Linked DNA regions of Homo sapiens: regions 1 and 3 are each linked to region 2. The links are contacts of gene promoters, found by promoter capture Hi-C in human tissues and cell types (Jung and others, 2019). All regions are on one chromosome and are shown on one strand. The core of a region is centred on a gene start or on the middle of the fragment in contact, and the rest is flanking DNA. Distances in the headings are between cores, read along the strand shown.

What was found. The method cuts DNA at HindIII sites, captures the fragments that hold promoters and counts their contacts. A contact is called where the count stands out against the background at its distance.
Region 1: a fragment that was not itself captured here is called in contact with the fragment with the promoter of ROCK1 in region 2 in 1 of the 25 tissues and cell types used here (dorsolateral prefrontal cortex).
Region 3: a contact is called between a fragment that was not itself captured here and the fragment with the promoter of ROCK1 in region 2, in 1 of the 25 tissues and cell types used here (dorsolateral prefrontal cortex).

Annotation. Positions count from the first base shown.
Region 1 is chr18:21,540,371-21,544,355 of GRCh38, forward strand. The region is part of intron 8 of ESCO1 (establishment of sister chromatid cohesion N-acetyltransferase 1); the gene reads right to left. Among named protein-coding and RNA genes, the nearest start is that of ESCO1, 58 kb to the right of the region's middle. The HindIII fragment of the contact is 5,589 bases long and covers 1-3,985 here.
Region 2 is chr18:21,110,412-21,114,635 of GRCh38, forward strand. ROCK1 (Rho associated coiled-coil containing protein kinase 1) reads right to left here and starts at 1,402. Exons shown (of 33, transcript NM_005406.3): 1 at 407-1,402. The coding sequence starts at 499. RefSeq lists enhancers at 1,055-1,643, 1,297-1,591, 1,691-1,910, 1,941-2,000 and a silencer at 1,261-1,650. The HindIII fragment of the contact is 9,004 bases long and covers 1-4,224 here.
Region 3 is chr18:21,443,657-21,447,568 of GRCh38, forward strand. It overlaps GREB1L (GREB1 like retinoic acid receptor coactivator), which reads left to right. Exons shown (of 33, transcript NM_001142966.3): 11 at 568-753. The region is part of intron 1 of GREB1L-AS1 (GREB1L antisense RNA 1); the gene reads right to left. Among named protein-coding and RNA genes, the nearest start is that of GREB1L-AS1, 5.4 kb to the right of the region's middle. The HindIII fragment of the contact is 4,052 bases long and covers 418-3,912 here.

The DNA.
Region 1 (3,985 bases), core at 1,325-3,824, 430 kb after region 2:
AAAGAATTAAACTCTTATATTTCATTGGAACATGGTTACCTCCACAAACAAACACTCCAAGTTTTATGTCTGGCATGCCAAAGACCTCCAGGAGGTTTTAAATGAACTGATTTGCATGCAGTAGCCCAGTATGAAAGGAATAGTCTTATGCTTATTGATCACAACTACCAAAGCCACAAGAAGGAGACTATAAAAAATATAACTACCTTCTAAGAATCTAATAGGGAAGGAGAAGCTACGTTGTGTGTATCTGAAGTTAAACATACTCAAAAAAAGAGAGGTAATAAACTCTTCTTCAGATCCACACTCGTGGTGATTAATGAGCAGAACCTGCATAAAAAAACAAAACAAAACAAAAGCCACTTAAATCTAGTAAGATGGGACTGAACCAGAGGTTAAAACTAGGAGCTTTGAAGTTCAAAATAAGTACAGAAGGAATGAGCTTAACTAGTTGTTCCAGTTGTCTTAACCCAACCAACTTTACATAAAAAGGCCTTTCCAGAAGCCATTTATACTTCTAGTAGAGAAAACCACCATATTTTTTCTGATGTTTCTTCTAAGAACACAAAAAGCTCAATGAAACCAAGAAAATGGCAACTAGATTTCTTTAAAAATATACTATGGCAAGTGTGAAAGCAGATTCGTTTTCTTAAACCATCAGGAATTTTTTGGAGGGGGAAGGTAGAAAGATCATAGTTGGGAACAAAAATTCTAGGTAATAAGCTTGGTATATGTAACAATTTAAATTAAAATATTTAAAATCCAAAATTTGTTTACATAATAGAGTACCCAAGTTAAAATTCAGATGATTAAAATTATGATTGGTAAAATGTTCTCAAGATTTGAAAAGAAAGGAGCAGAAACAATAGCCACAGAAGTCCTTTTTTCATCTAAGAAACTAAATCTGTAGTTCTTCAACGTAAATAAGGTTTTAAAAAAGAAACTTAAGGCCGGGTGCAGTGGCTCACGCCTGTAATCCCAGCACTTTGGGAGGAGGGCAGATCACAAGGTCAGGAGATTGAGACCATCCTGGAAACCCCGAATCTACTAAAATACAAAAAATTATTGTATTTTTAGGCGGGTGTGGTGGCACGCGCCTGTAGTTCTGGCTACTCAGGAGGCTGAGGCAGGAGAATTGCTTGAACTCGGGAGGTGGAGGTTGCAGTGAGCTGAGTTCGCGCCATTGCACTCCAGCCTGGGTGACAGAGCGAGACACTGTCCCAAAAAAAAAAAAAAAAAAAGAAAGAAAGTAAATCTGAATCATATAGAGATCTGAATATAGGTAAACAATTTTTAGAAGATTTACAAGACATCACCTCTTTAAAAACAAATTTCTATTACTAATGTTACTTTATGAAAAAGCTTTTAAATTTATGAACCTATTTTTAATAAAATGAAAAGAGATTTTCACTTTAAAACATCGAAAAGACCTAAAAATGTAAGTAACCTCAAGTTATAAGAAAACCATTCTTCCTGAACTGAATCATCTAAAGACAGTTCCATAAACTATTTTCCTATTAAATGCCTTTGAAAACAGTAATACTGGTTTCATGTCATTATATTGCATTATAGACATTAGACAAATTATTTTGCTTTACTAATTTTTGAGTGCAAAACTTTCTCTTGAAACAACTTCAGACTTGTATGTTCATGCCGAAATTTTTATCACAATTCCATTTGATATAATTTTATGTTTTAAATAGTACCTTTTTTTCATGTACTAAATAAAAGCCCTTTAAGAAGCAAAGGCTGCAAAAGGATACTTAGTATTGCTTAGATTTCTAATGTTCATGAAAACAGCAAGTTTTATTTATTAATGTAATTTACTTATTTGAGACAGAGTCTCACTCTGTCACCCAGGCTGGAGTGCAGTGGCAAGATCACAGCTCACAGCAGCTTCAAACTCCTGGGGCTCAAGCAATCCTCTTGCTTCAGCCTCCCAAGTAGCTGGGACTACAGGCGTGCACCACCATGCCAAGCTAAGAAAGCATATTTCAGTGAAAACTTTTAAGTAACTCTAGAGTAAAAGTTCAGGGTTTAGATCCTTGTTCTTGGTAGTTACTAGATGCATGGCCTTAGGCAAATCACTGGAACTCTGATTCTGTTTCCTGATCTTAGCATTCTAAAAAATGGCTATCATCACCTCCATCACTTGGGTAGGTACGAGGGTGCTGTATTTAAGATGACTGCTCAAAGAGTAGCCACTAAGTAACTCTTAGCAACTTCCATTCTCCCTTCTTACTAGTATCAAACTAAGATCAATGCACTAATCTAACAAAACAGTCAATCAATAAATGTTCCCAAGGGTAAATACAGCAATAAATTCAAATCATAGGCAAATAAAAGATGAAAGAAACAAGTTAGCTAATATTTGTTCAAATAACATACTCAAGACATATCTATGCCTCAACTACAGTTAACTGCTAGTCACAATAACCACATGACCCTCCTTACTTCAGAGAAACTTAGAGGCGATAAAGTCCATCCAATGCTTAAAATTAAGGCAGAGGAGAAGCAGGGTTCAGGAAAGAGTGCATGCAATTTAGAAGAATAATCAAATAGCCACAACGTTTTTGCAAAGAAATAAATTCCAATGCAGTGCACTTACACTTCTGACCTTTAGCTCCAACATATTTCAGGACTAGTATGTTACACATAACCCTCTGCTAACAAGTAGTATTTTCCAAAACCCATTTTTTCTTACTTCATCCATTTCTGCTTCATGAAAAGCAGAAAACTTTATATTCCTAATTTGTATTTCTAACAGCAAGAAATTATTATTATTTTATTTATTTTTTTTTTTGAGACAGTTTCAATCTTGTTGCCCAGGCTGGAGTGCAATGGCGCAATCTCGGCTCACTGCAACCTCCGCCTCCCGGGTTCAAGCAATTCTCCTGCCTCAGCCTCCCGAGTAGTTGGGATCACAGGCATGTGCCACCACGCCGAGCTGATTTTTTTTGTATTTTTAGTAGAAACAGGGTTTCTCCATGTTGGTCAGGCTGGTTTCGAACTCCCGACCTCAGGTGATCCGCCAGCCTTGGCCTTCCAAAGTGTTGGGATTAAGAAATTATTACTCTTTTCTCCTTGCTATTGGAGTTACTCTAAACTGTACAGTCTAAAGAATGGATTTCTCCTTTTTCCATCAAAAAAAGGATTACAATTGGAAACAAAATACACTGAGTGGTAAATACACTGAGTATATACAATGATCAAAATTCAAACCAAACACTTAAGATGTGTAGATTTAATTGTATAAATAATACCCCGACTTTAAAAGTTCACATTAATCACAATTTCATGAAAAGGTTGAATGAGAATATACATTTGAAGGAATATTTGAAGAAATAAAACCAACAACCAGCTTTTCAAAAAATAAACAAATATTACAAGGGAAAAAAACAGAACCAGGGAGAACTTTGGGATTAAAAGATACTAAAGGGACATAACAACCAATGTAATATATAAACCCTAATTCAAACAAATAAGCAACATAGGAAATCATGAGCTATTTGGGAAGCTTTGAACTCTGATAGAAAACTTGATTTCAACAATTAATTCATTTATTGAAGGTGTAGTTATATTCTTTAAGGTACTTTTATGTTTAAAAAAGGAATAATCTTTGGCCAAGCGCAGTGGCTCACACCTGCAATCCCAGCACTTTGAGAGGCTGAGGAAGGCGGATCACAAGGTCAGGAGATCGAGACCATCCTGGCTAACACGGTGAAACCCTGTCTCTACTAAAAATACAAAAAAATTAGCTGGGTGTGGTGGTGCACGCCTGTAGTCCCAGCTACTTGGGAGGCTGAGGCAGGAGAATTGCTTGAACCCAGGGGACAGAGGTTGCAGTGAGCCGAGATCGCGCCACTGCACTCCAGCCTGGGCGACAGAGCGAGACTCCAACTCAAAACAAACAAAAAAGGAGTAATCTTCATCTTTAAGCAATACATATTTAGAGGTGGGGCATGGTGGCTCACACCTGTAATCC
Region 2 (4,224 bases), core at 152-2,651:
GGAAAAAAAATGCAAAGTAGTCTTTCCAATTTAACTGTCAAACGGATCAGAAAGATTAACATTAATTACTACGATCGCCATTCAACAAACTGTATACATTGCAGTAACTCTGACGTGATAACTTTTTATAGGATGCCTGCAATAGCAGTTTGTAAGTATCTTTCGGGTACTCATGAACTGAGTCAGAATTAAAAGTTCAGAGTAGTTAGTACAGAGCCAGTCAAATGGCAAATAGGACCACACCATGAGATGTTAATGGTACTCCAAGATTCTTCAGGAAACAGAAATCTAGCATTTTCCAAGACGATTATGCACACCTGAGACTTTTGCAGCGAACCAGACTAATGCAAGAGGAAGGAAAGACATGCAAAACCCCAGACAAGCAAAAGAGAACAGCGCTACTCACCAGCAAACAATCCGAATTCACTTCCGATTTGGGATCCCGCAGCAGGTTGTCCATTTTTTCAAATCGAGTCTCAAAACTGTCCCCAGTCGACATGTTGCTGCTGCTGTGACAATGCCCTCTTACCAGCACCAGCAGCGGAAAGCAATTTCAACCAACTTCCTCCGCGGTGGGTTCGCAGCCGCGGGGCGGAGGAGCCGGAACCTCAGGGTCACCAGGTGCGCCCGGTTCCCCCGTCTTCCCCTCACTGAGGGGACCTCCGCTCTCCAGACCCCGGGCCGGGGGCAACAGCGACCCACAGCCGCTCGGACGCCCAAAGTCGCATCCCACCCGGCAGCCCCTCACGACAGCCGACAGCGCCGTCGCCACCAGCCTCGTCGCTCCGGCGAGGTGCTTCAGTCTAGCGGGCCCCGGCCGCCGTCGCCATGGAGGGGTCCCCGTCCCGAGATGGGCAGGAGCGGGTAGAGAAAGAGAAGCAGGGTGGAGACTCCCTCCGGGCAACAAGGGAGGGAGAAGAGGAAAGGCGAAAGCAAAGGGCGGGTGAGGAGCTGTGCCAGCTGCGGCCGCCGCTCGGGCCACGGGCCGGGCCCGCTCCGCTCAGAGGCGCTGTAGACGGTCTAGCCCCGCGTCCCCGGCTCTACTCGGCCCGGCCCGACGCACCGATCAGTCTCGGCCACGAGCTGGTCCACGCAGGACAGCCTCACTCTCCCATTTTGTCCCGTCGCTGCTGGGGCTGCTGCTACGGTGTCCGGTGGGGCAGGGCGAGGTCGATGCCCGATGGAGACTTAGCAGAGGAAAGGCTGGAGAGCGGGCGAAGAGGAAGACGATAGTTGGGTCCCGGCGGCTGCTGATGGGGGAGCTTCTGGGAGGGGCTGCGGTCCCAGCCGGGGAAAGGGCGAGTCGCGGCGGCGAATGCCTGGGGGGTGGGGCGAGGGGGGCTGAGAGGGACTAATATGTCCGCCTTCCTGTTCAAACAAACGGAGACCGCCGGGGCAGACTGCGCATGCGGGGCGCGGACGCTCGGAAGGGGAACCAGCCGGGACCCCGCGCGCGCGCGCGCACTCTGTCGCCTCCGCAGGGTGGGGTGGGGCGGGGCGGTGAGGTGGGCGGGGCCTTGCGGGCAGGCGGTGGAGAAGGCGGACCGCTGGGAGGAGCCGAGTGCGGGTAAGCAGCTGCCGGCAAGGTTCTCGCCTTGGCCGGCTCTGAGGAGCCATGCAGGGCTCTGGAGCGGCCTTGGAGGTCCGGACGGAGGCGGAGCTCTGGCTGCTTCTGATCGCTGTCCCGGCAGATGCCCCAGCTCTGTTTCCTCTGGGTTGCAGCCAGTCCAGAGACTTCTGACGAGGAGAGAGTGCTTGTTCTCCTTGTTGCTGTTAGGGTGGGGCAATAGGTTCTTTTTTAGGCAAGAAGCCTTTTCGTCGGCAGGTACCAGCATTGAGCACCAGTGGCGTTTGGTTTTCAGTGGTACTCCATGGACAGCCCTCCGCGAGCCCCGGCGTTGAACCCATTTACGATTCACTGGGAAAGTTCCGAAGCGCTGCAGCGCTCAGCCCTCCCACGCCAGGCGTGTGTGTCAGGGGAGCCATAAAATACTGACTCCGGAAGATACAGTCAATAGAAGTCAAGCTCAATTTAATTTTTTTAAAGGAAAATAATCTCGTAGAAAAAAATCAATATTTTTAAGTCGTTCGTGTTAGTTCTCATAACACCCCTACTGTAGTTCTCTCCTGGACGTGTAATGCTGCCGTTTCAATGTCAAAACATTCAGTGAAACTTAATTGTGATTTTTATCAGAACTAATGTAGGACATGAGAATAATGGGCATTTCTCCTAGTTCCGTTACTTCGTTGACTGTGGTGTGAGGAAAGGTGAAAGACTTGTCACTCACCCCCGCTGATAAAGTTATGTTCTTCACTGGTTTCAGCAGGAAATCTACCTTAATTTATTCCTCATCAAACTTTATTTTTGCTCAGAAGCCAAATTAAGGATCACTAGAAATAGAAAATGTGGATCTTTTACCCCATGATGGAAAATGCTACAGATGAACCAAAAAGCATCGGAGTAAAAAGCATCGTACAGCATCTGAACAGTCCACCAGCCTTACGATGTGAGTCAGAGGTTAGGAAAATCTTACACTGTTTGAAAAAATGTCTATTTCTATTTTCAATTTATTAAATACAAGAAATATTTAGATATAAAATCCACTATATATATCAAGATAGGACGTTCTTGGTTTATACAAAAATCATAACAAAGACAACTAGACAAACCAGGTATTTCATTAAATGCCTTTGCAGCGACTTTTCTTGGCTCCAGCATTTTAAGTCATGTGAATTAGACTTATTTTTAAGCATAGGGCTTAAAATAAATCAGGCAGTTGCCCTAAAATAAATTTCCTAAACCCTGCTTGTCTTTTTTTTATTATTATTACCATTTTTAGGTATTAGGAATTTTGTTGTTTCTCAGAGAACCGTGAACATTATGTTGCTTTCCATTTAGACACATACGAAAAAATACAAGTAGTTAAGACAATACATGAGTGACACTGATAAATATAAGTGGAAGTGATAACCAACCTGGCAGAACTACTAGAAATATATGTGGGGTCCATATATTTCTAGAAATATCTACTAGAAATATAGGTGGGGTCCATATATAGCTTACTTACCTACAAGGCTCTTCTGATTATTGTGACACATCACTAGTTATCTTCTGCCATAAGATAGATGGACTCTAAATCTAGTTATCTTCTGCCATAAGATAGATGGACTCTAAATTAACTTTTTTTTTTTTCTCCGAGGCGGAGTTTCACTCTTGTCTACCAGTCTGGAGTGCAGTGGCACGATCTCGGCTCACTGCAACCTCTGCCTCCCGGGTTCAAGCGATTCTCCCGCCTCAGCCTCCGGAGTAGCTGGGATTACAGGCACACGCCACCACGCCCAGCTAATTTTTGGTGTTTTGTTTGTTTTATTTTGTTTTGAGATGGAGTTTCACTCTTGTTGCTCAGGCTGGTGTGCAATGTCGCGATCGCGGCTCACCGCAACCTCCACCTTCTGGATTCAAGTGATTCTCCTGCCTCCCGAATAGCTGGGATTACAGGCATGCTCCACCATGCCCAGCTAATTTTGTATTTTTAGTCGAGATGGGGTTTCTCCATGTTGGTCAGGATGGTCTTGAACTCCCGACCTCAGGTGATCCGCCCACCTTGGCCTCCGGAAATGTTGGGATTACAGGCGTGAGCCACTGCCCTGGCCTATTTTTATATTTTTAGTAGAGATGGGGTTTCACCATGTTGGCCAGGCTGGTCTCGAACTCCTGACCTCGTGATCCACCCTCTTCGGCCTCCCAAAGTGCTGGGACTACAGGCGTGAGCCACCGCGCCAGGCCAACTTTTTTTAATAAAGAGGTCCTCACCTTTAATAGGGTGGAATCATATTATATTAAAAATTCCCTTCCATTAGCTGGGCATGGTGGCAGGCACCTGTAATCCCAGCTACTCTGGAGGCTGAGGCAGGAGAATTGCTTGAACCCGGGAGGCGGAGGTTGCAGTGAGCCGAGATGGCGCCACTACACTCCAGCCTGGGTGACAGATCGAGACTCTGTGTCAAAAAAATAAATAAATAAAAATAAAATAAAGTTCCCTTCCAACCTTAAAATTCTATCGTCTAATTGTGACTAATCTCTTCCAAAGTATTGTGGATATTTGAGATCACCCTTAAAATATAAAGTATGTTAAAATCCTACATGCAAGTGCAAAATACTGATACCATGTATAAATATAATAATAATATAACAAACATACTGAGTGCTCACCATGTGCTAGG
Region 3 (3,912 bases), core at 1,194-3,693, 330 kb after region 2:
TTCCATGAGAAACAGAGATAATATGAGTACAGTTGTCCCTTAGTATCCCTGGGGGATTGATTCCAGGCCCCGTCCCATATCAAATCGAATATCCTCAAGTCCCTCATATAAAATGGCACAGTATTTGCATATAACCTATGCACATCCTCCCATATACATTAAACCACCTCTCCATTGCTTGTAATACTTAATACAGTGCCTACACATCACGTCATTCACATGAATTCAGTGTACTACTCAGCCCACAGCAAATTCAAGTTTCACTTCTTGGAACTTTGTGGAATTTTTTCTTCTGACTATTTCAGTCCACGGTTGATTGAACGTGGAACCCACAGACATAGAGGGCCAACTGTATTTTCTTTCCTGTTCATTTAACTTAATATAAGGATAGAATTTGGAGCATCCAAGTGAATTCCCTGGGATTGATATGTTTGAGTGATTTGTTTGGTAGCTATCTCAGAGGGCAGGGAATTTTGTTAAGCAGCTTTGATCGTCGTTGAGCAAGTGTACCTGGTTGGACCATAAAAAGAAATGTTGAACTGTACTGACCTGCTTCTATTGGGACAGGCTATGGCACTTTACCCTATTTCTATGGAAATGTTGGTGACATTGTTGTGAGTCCTCTGCTGGTGAATTGCTACAAGATTCCACAGTTGGAAAACAAAGATTTGGAAAAATTAGGGTTGACCGGCAGCCAATTTCTGAGCGTGGAAAACATGATTCTTCTGACGATACAGTATCTTGTGCGGCTGGGTAAGTCATTTTCCATAATCATTTGCTGGTGACTACTTTTGAGGATTTTTTGTGATGTACTTTTTCTTTCTTTCTCACATTTATCCTCCTATCTCTTATTTTCCCTCTTTCGCTTCTAATGTTCTTTCCCTTCAACCCCATTCTCTGTAACTTTTCCCTTTCCTCTCCTTCATTTCTTTTCTACTCCTTTCCTTTCCTCTTCTTTGGGTCCTAGAGGAGATGAATTGCACCACCTAGTGTCCAGTCTCATGATGCTGCAAAGGTCTCCAAAGTAGTTAAGGTAGGCAGAACCTTAAAGGGTTGTGCCTTGAGCACCCCTTCTCTGGGGAGCTTGGCCAGGCCACCTTTCTGAAAGTGCACCTACCATCTGGAGTGCAAACACAGCCATTGTCTTAAACAATTATTTTCCAGTTTTCCACTTAGCCTTTTTATCTTGTTTATCCACTGGCCCTACACCCATTTTTTTTCTTCTCCAGCTACACCCCTTTGATGGAGTCCCATCGTGCTTTCCATCATTGAGGTCATAACTGTGGACCTCCCTGGAAGGTCTTTAAGCTATAGGGTAAGGGGGATATGTAGGTCATGAACCCTTCACTTCCTCTATCTGATATATTCTCCGAAGCCCCAAAGTGGGTGTATGCAGGTGCCCTGACAATACTAGAGTGGCTTAGCAGCATTTACATCGAAATGTCCTTTATTTTGCAAATGGCAGTAGGCCATCTAATTATACACTCACTCTATCACTTCAAGCCACTGATTTACTTAGAAAAATATTTGAGATGTGGCCGGGCACGGTGGCTCACGCCCGTGATCCCAACACTTTGGGAGGCCAAGGTGGGCGGATCACCTGAGGTGGGGAGTTCGAGACCAGCCTGACCAACATGGAGAAACCCCATCTCTACTAAAAATACAAAATTAGCTGGGCGTGGTGGCGCATGCCTGTAATCCCAGCTACTCAGGAGGCTGAGGCAAAAGAATTGCTTGAACCCGGGAGGCGGAGGTTGCAGTGAGCCCAGATCACGTCATTGCACTCCAGCTTGGGCAACAAGAGTGAAACTCCATCTCAAAAAAAAAGAAAAGAAAAGAAAAGAAAAAAATATTTGAGATGTAAAATTACACATAAAAATATTAGTATGCACTCTTGTGAAATTTTTTAATTTTAGAAAATACTTCAGTGTTAGGAGATAATAAAAACACTGGACTAAATAACTTTAAAAGAAAGAAAAAAGCTTTATTAGGGCATATTCAGTGTTTGGTGCATTAGCTAGCAATCTTGACTAGAACTCTGTGCCCTGAGAGGCTGCCTTGACTTGGCCTCTGCTTCGACATGGCCTTTTGAAATTTACAAGGCACCAATTTCATGATAAACCTAGGACTTACTAATGATGCTTATTGAAAGGTAATACAATTATAAAGCTCATCTGGGTCCACAGCTCATTTGATGACATAATTTTAATTGCTACATACTGAAATTAGATTATAGACTGTGTTCTAAGATCTAAAGCCAACTTCTAAATGCACCCAGAATTAGTAAAACCAGGCTTCATAAAGTGATGATATAGCCAACCAAGAAAATCACTATAGCACTCTTTTTCAGTTTGTTTGTTTGTTTGATTATTTGTTTGTTTGTTTTGAGACCGAGTCTCACTCTGTTTCCCAGGCTGGAGTGCAGTGGTGCGATCTCGACTCACTGCAACCACCACCTCCCATGTTCAAGCAATTCTCATGTCTCAGCCTCCCGAGTAGCTGGGACTACAGGCGTGAACCACCACACCCTGCTAATTTTTGTATTTTTAGTAGAGACAGGGTTTCACCATGTTGGCCAGGCTGGTCTCAAACTCCTGATCTCAGGTGATCCACCTGCCTTGGGCTCCCAAAGTTGGGATTACAGGCATGAGTCACCACGCCCGGCCTCCTTTTCAATCTTAATAGCAATTTTTAAAATCGGAGTCTAATTTAATTAAATGAACCAAGTGGTCAAAATAAGATATCTTTTCTTAAAGTACTAAATGCTCTTATCTTTTGTAAAGAAAAAGAAAAGAAAAGAAAAAAAGAAACAATTTCAATTTAATTACACAGATTCTTCTCTGACCTGCAGGATCAGTTCTTTCCTGAATTTGACTTGCAGTCAATCAGTTAGGCCTCTCGATATACATGAATAGCTATTTCTCTTTTAAAACCTAAGCTTTGTACATTGAGACATCTCTATCCCTCAACAACTGTTCTGGAGTCCTTTATTTATTTATTATTTATTTATTTCTTTATTTCTTGCCTCTGGAGGTTTCAAGAAGGCAAGCAAGAATAGTTTCACATATGGCATAGATTATAGACATTTAAAAAAATAAATCTAAACTTCTAAAAGGATTTTTAATACTTCAGCGGCTCAGTTACTTAGAGGTATCAGAGAAGAAGAAAAGCAAGATTCTTCAGAAGGAACCATACCTCTTCACTACAGTCACTTTTAAAAAATCTCAGTCATTTCACAGTCAGAAAATCTTTGAAGTAGATAATGAAATCAGCAAATCCAGAGATTCTTGTAAGGCTCTGAGTCTATTTAAACCTTGACTTTTCCTATTAAGGTAGTTCTTTCTGAAAAGTCATTAAAACTGATACCTCAGCTAACCTAAGTTATTGGAGATCAGCACTTGAAGGAAAAGATTATTGTTATCAAGCTTGCGAAAGTGGAGAAAAGACACCTGCAATGTAATTGTAAAGGCTGAGGATGAGGTACTGGGTGTGGTGGCTCACGCTTGTAATCTCAGCACCTTGGGAGGCTGAGGCAGAAGGATCACTTGAGCCCAGAAGTTCAGAACTGCAGTGAGCTATGATTGTGCCACTGTACTCCAGCCTGGCAGACAGACAGAGACCCTGTCTCTAATTAAAAAAATTTAAAAAAAAAATTTTTTTAAAAGGCTGAGGATGAAAAAGTGATAGTTGATTTTTGGAAACAAGGCATTTTACTCTAAGAAGTCTCTTACCTCATTTAAACTTAATACCTTTTCCTCCACTTCTTGATTCCTAATTGTACATCAGTCAAAACTGTATAAAAGCGAGCTTTAAGGCAACAAAGGATGTTGTGAACATGTTTAGTAATTTTATTTTCCCAGAATGCCTTTGTGCTTTCAATTAATTATGCCTCCTGATAGAATATGTTACTTA